Regions from separate parts of the Homo sapiens genome. Here region 1 is linked to region 2. Evidence: promoter capture Hi-C in 16 types of primary human blood cells and fetal thymus (Javierre and others, 2016). All regions are on one chromosome and are shown on one strand. Each heading gives the region's core, a stretch centred on a gene start or on the middle of the fragment in contact. The rest is flanking DNA. Distances are from core to core; before and after follow the strand shown. Region 1 holds the start of GTSF1L (gametocyte specific factor 1 like). Region 2 holds the start of SGK2 (serum/glucocorticoid regulated kinase 2).

Region 1 (2,700 bases), core at 185-2,684, 170 kb after region 2:
TTTACAGAAACAGTTTGCTGACCTCTGAGCTCAACAGTGTGTCTCAACCTTTCTATATCAGCACAGAAAGAGCTTCCTCACTTTTTTTAAGGCGGCATAATATTTTGTTGTATGGCTGCAGTATAACTTATTTTTAATCAGGCCCTTTTAATGGATATTTAGGTCATTTTTGACTTTTTTTTTTGTTGCTTAAGACAGGATCTCACTATGTTGCCCAGGCTGAACTCAAGCGATCCTCTCGCCTCAGCTCCCAGAGTAACAGGCTACAGCTGTGATTCAACACACCTGGCTCATTTCTAACTCTTTTGCTGCTGCAAATAATGCTGCAGTGAATAAGCTAGTACTTAGCTCATTTTCCACATGTGTGATTATATTTACAGAATGAAGCCTGGAAGTGGAATTGCTCAATCAAAGCCTGTATGCATTGATAATGTTTATAGCTATTGTCAAATTGCCCTCTGTGGAGGTTGTACCAACTGACATTCTCACCAATGTTATGAAAGTGCCCATTTTGCCCTACCTTTGCCAGCAGAGTATTTTAAGCCTTTTGATATTTATCAATCTGCCAGGTTAAAAAAAGAGGTAGCCCAGGGTAGTTTACTTTGCATGTCTTTTATTCTGATGCATTGCACGTTCTTCCATGCATTGATGAGGCGTGTGCTCCTTCCTCAGCTGGCAGTTTACTGTCCTGGTCTGAGGATCTTCTGGGGACTGGTCTCTCTTGCTGACTCTTTCGTGTCATTTTCACAAACAACCTTTTGAGGAAAAAAAGTCTTAAGGACAAACACATGCTGGCAATTAGCGCCATCGACATTCCAGATATCGGGGCTGGGAAGGCAGGGTGAGACCTGCTGGGTGTCATCGTTCTGCTCTGAACTAGGAGGACTGACTTTCAGAGGGTTCTCGGTGTCCTCTTCTTCCACAGCGCTCCTGTTGACACAAACAGCCTCATGTTCCTCCAGATTTTTGATGGGGACCACGTGGCAGGCGTTGTATTTGCAGGTGGCCATCTTTTTGGCTTTCTTGGGGTTCTTTCTCCTGCACGATGCCAGGTGGTACTGGAATCTGCTGAGTGGGATTCGGTGGTGAGGATCATAAGGGCAAATTTCAAAGGCTTCTGGCTCCATGAGAAATTCTTGAAGCAGGGTATCTCACTGCTAGAGTCTAACGGAAATGCTTCTTGTGGAGAAGCCCTTTTGTAAGAAGGATGGAGTTGTCCTCTGCCCAGTTTTGGCCCTTGGGATTCTGTAGGTGACGGTCTTAACTTGTGGTCTGTTCTCTAGGACTGTGAGTGGTGGATTAGAAGAGAGATGAGGAGCTGCCAAAAGCAGCTACACAGAGAACAGAGTTAGCAAATGGCACCCGAGACAGAACTATAGCAGATGCAAGAGCCAAAAACCCACAGCCGCTTGACTCACGGATATACTATGATGTCAAGCTGCAGTCACCGGTGGTCACAATGGGCAGCCTAAGTCATCAGGAAGAGGCTATTGTGCACTGCTTGGGAGGGGTGGATGGCTTTGGGAATGCTGCCATCTAAAATTGCTCATGGATGTATGTTGTGACTTAAGTCTTTTAACTGTACGTATTTGTTTTTTGTTTTTGTTTTTGTTTTATTTGAGACAGAGTCTCGCTCTGTTGCCAGGCTGGAGTACAGTGGTGCGATCTTGGCCCACTGCAATCTCCGCCTCCCAGGTTCAAGTGATTCTCCTGCCTCAGGCTCCCGAGTAGCTGGGATTACAGGCACCTGCCATCATGCCCGGCTAATTTTTTGTATTTTTAGTAGAGACGGGTTTCACCATGTTGGCCAGGCTGGTCTTGAACTCCTGACCTCAGGTGATCCACCCGCCTCAGCCCCCCAAAGTGCTGGGATGATAGGTGTGAGCCCCTGCGCTTTGCCAGGGCTGGTTTTTGGATGTGATTCTCAGGGCCGTCTTTCTTTACCCTTCTGCTCTGCTGAGGCCCACAGCAGCCTAGTCTCCTTGGGTGTGGGGGAAGGGTTTAAATCTATTCATATATCGCAGAAGGTGAAGCCTTTTGGTGTTCAGCTTAACATGGGAAACATTTCCTATAAAACGCCCCATCTTAGGTCGACCCTGCCGTTGTCCCTCACAGAACTGGACCAAAGTCTGAATGGACGCAATTGACACATATCTCAGGGTGTTAGTGGTTTTGGTCCTCTGACATTCTATTTACATGTCTGGTGTTAGGTAGGATTTCTTCTAAAAATTGGCCTGGAGCTCCTTCCCACCCCCCACCCTGTTAAATTGTTTCTCAAGATCTGAGTGACAGTAGAGAAATACCATATTCCTGAATAGGAAGACTCAAAATCATAAATGAATATTCTCTGTAAACTAAATTACATAAATTACATAGTCATCCTAAATTGATACATAAATATAATGCAATTCCAAATAATTTTTGTAGCTTTATGTGCTGATATCTGATAGAGCAAGTCTCTGCTTGTTATTAGTTTTCCCCCCAAAAGCCTTGACTATCTTCAAGGATTTGTTATTCTAGATCATGTGTCAACAAACTATGGGCCCATGATTCAAATCCAGATGGCTATCTGCTTTTGTAAATAAAGTTTTATTGAAGCACAGCCACACCCATTTGTTTATATATTGTCCATTGGCTGCTTTTGAGCTAGATTTGAGTAGTTGCAACAGAATCCAGATGACCTAGAAACCTCTAATGTTT
Region 2 (2,700 bases), core at 168-2,667:
AGCTTGGTGGCACAGCAGCAGCAGCAGCAGGAGCTCTGGAAAGGGCAGGACCTTGTGCGCTGCCCTGATTTGCTCTGTGCACTTGGGCCAGCTACCTCCCCTATCTGGACCAGGGCCAGACACATGCTGCTATGTGTGTTGGTGGAGGTGGGGTGTGTGGCCATGCAGGGCTCCTCCGGAGCACAGCAGAGCAGCCGGTGTTTAAGGCACCAGAATTACCAGAAAGTTGTTGACATTTTAATGGAAAGGCAATGGAGGAAGCAGTGTGAAAGTCAGCCTGCTCAGGAGGGGTCACTGGGCAGAGCTTTCCTTACCTGTCCAGGGGTCCAGGCCCTGCCTGTGCCCTGAGTTAGAACCCAGGGCCGGCCAGGCGCGGTGGCTCACGCCTGTAATCCCAGCACTTTGGGAGGCCGAGGCGGGCAGATCACAAGGTCAGGAGATCGATACCGTCCTGGCTAATGCAGTGAAACCCCATCTCTACTAAAAATACAAAAATTAGCTGGGCGTGGTGGTGGGCGCCTGTAGTCCCAGCTACTCGGGAGGTTGAGGCCGGAGAATGGCGTGAACCTGGGAGGCGGAGCTTGCAGTGAGCTGAGATCACGCCACTGCACTCCAGCCTGGGTGACAGAGCGAGACTCTGTCTCAAAGAAAAAAAAAAAAGAACCCAGGGCCTGGGAAGCTTTGGGTCAACCCCCGAGAAAGCCTTCCCTGTTCTCCAGGGTGAACTCATCTCTGGTTCCTGAGCCTCAAATCTCTGAAGGGCAGAGTGGGGCATAGGTTTCAACTCAGCTGTGATTCTCCCAGAACGGTGCCAGGGCAGTGCTTGGTCGGGTAGGCTGTGGGTGGCAGTCTTCGGCTTAACACAAGAAATTGCCAGAGGCTGGCTCAGGGGGAAATGAGCTGCCCAGTCCTGGAAGTTTCCATGAAATGACTGAACATAGGGGCTGGTGGCCCCCATTAGGGAAGGGGTGGAGGAGGGTGTTGTGTGAGACCAACCTTTCAGTTGCTGGTTCACTAGGTTCCAAGCGAAAGGGAAGATGACTCAGCGGAGGGAATCAGGGAAGGCTGTGTAGGAGTCAGCACTTAAGCTGGACCTTGAGAGAGTGCGGCAGTTCCAGTGTTGAAAGGGACTTCAGAAACCGTCCCTCCAGCAGGACACACCATCCGTCACCAATTCACATGAGGCTCAGGGAGCTGAAGTCAGTTGCCCATGGTCACATAACAAGTTGTGCTTTAAAAAATTCAGAGAGTCCCCCAGGCAGGGCCCATCCAGGAGCCAGTGTGTGCAGCCAGCTTGGTAATTCAGGTCCAGTGGTTAATTAGTAACTGGAAGGCCCCGAAGCCAGCTTCCAGCAGGCAGGGCTGGGAGGTTGAACTTGAGCCGGTTTGGGAGCCAGGAGCGAGTGGGTGACAGGTCATTCCTGACTGGGAAGGTTGCTTGACAAGTCAGGATTGTGCCTCCAGTCAGAAGGACCATGAAGAGAGAGAAGAGGGCAGAGCCGTGCATGGGGCTGCTCCCCAGGACCTGAGCAGGAACCTGGAGTTTTCAGGTGAGAGGCTCACCTGTGAGCAGGATACCTGCCTGCTCGCCTATTGGTCTCCAGATTGACTAGTTACCTAGCTAACATCTTTCCTAGTACCTGTTTACTTTCTTTCCTTCCTTTCTTCCTTGGCGACTTCTTTCCCTTCTCCCTCCTTCCTTTCCTTCCTTCCCTCCCAACTATCTGCTTTCTCAGCTGCCTAATTTTCTTCCTCCTTAACTAACCAACTTACATCCTCACTTCCTTCCCACTGACTTCATTTTTTCCTTTTCTAGCTTTCTATTGTCTTCCTGAAATTCCAGGCCGTGGGCTTTGCAGTCAGATGGCCTGGGTTCAAATCCTGGTTATGTCATTTATTAACTGTCTTGATCATGTCACTTCCCTGTCCTTGCCTCAGTTTTCTCCTCCTTGAAACAGGGACGATGATAGTTCCTAACCCGTGGGGTTGTGGGAACAAAATAAGATCAAGTTGGCACTTGAACTGGGCAGGCGTGTAAATGAACAAGTTACAGTGAAGACAGGGACAGCAGCAGGAGAGGGTGCATGGGATCGGAGGGTCATCTGGCTTCCAGGAAAGGCAATGAGAACAGGTGAAAAGGTGAGCTGGAAAGACCAGGTTTGTTGGGGAATGTTCCAAGGAGAGAGAACTGTGTGACACTGTCCCACCCCCACACCCCATTTGGCAGGGCCAGGGAGCTGTAAGCAGGTCCATGTAACAGTGGGACAGAGGGAGGCAAGTCTGGGCTGTGGCAAGTTAGGAAAGGGACAGGCTTGAGGACTCATGGAGGGGCTTGAGTGGGAGTTTGCGGAGTCTGAAGAGTTAGGAGAATATATTGATGTCCAGCTTCTGGCCAGAAAATTAGAACACCGTGGTGCGAGAGAGAAGAAAGCCTTAGGAACTGAGGGCTGCTTAGGCATGGGGGTCACAGTCAAGGTGATGGGGGAGGGTGTGATGGGCCATGGGCATGCCAGGTTCCCACCAGGAACTCAGTACTTGAATATTAACTCAACAGCAATATCTTGAGAAGCTTTACACAATAGTACAAAGATAAAAGTTAAAATAACCGGCCGGGTACAGTGGCTCACACCCGTAATCCTAACACTTTGGGAGGCCGAGGCAGGCGGATCACCTGAGGTCAGGAGTTTGAGACCAGCCTAG

The links. The method cuts DNA at HindIII sites, captures the fragments that hold promoters and counts their contacts. A CHiCAGO score of 5 or more calls a contact.
Region 1: the fragment with the promoter of GTSF1L here is called in contact with the fragment with the promoter of SGK2 in region 2 in 4 of 17 cell types (endothelial precursors, total B cells, megakaryocytes and 1 more); the score reaches 7.6 in endothelial precursors.

The regions. Positions count from the first base shown.
Region 1 is chr20:43,725,568-43,728,267 of GRCh38, forward strand. It overlaps GTSF1L (gametocyte specific factor 1 like), which reads right to left and starts at 1,435. Exons shown (of 1, transcript NM_176791.4): 1 at 597-1,435. The coding sequence starts at 1,127. The coding sequence ends at 681. The HindIII fragment of the contact is 9,111 bases long and covers 1-2,700 here.
Region 2 is chr20:43,557,610-43,560,309 of GRCh38, forward strand. It overlaps SGK2 (serum/glucocorticoid regulated kinase 2), which reads left to right and starts at 1,418. Exons shown (of 13, transcript NM_170693.3): 1 at 1,418-1,550. The HindIII fragment of the contact is 1,890 bases long and covers 678-2,567 here.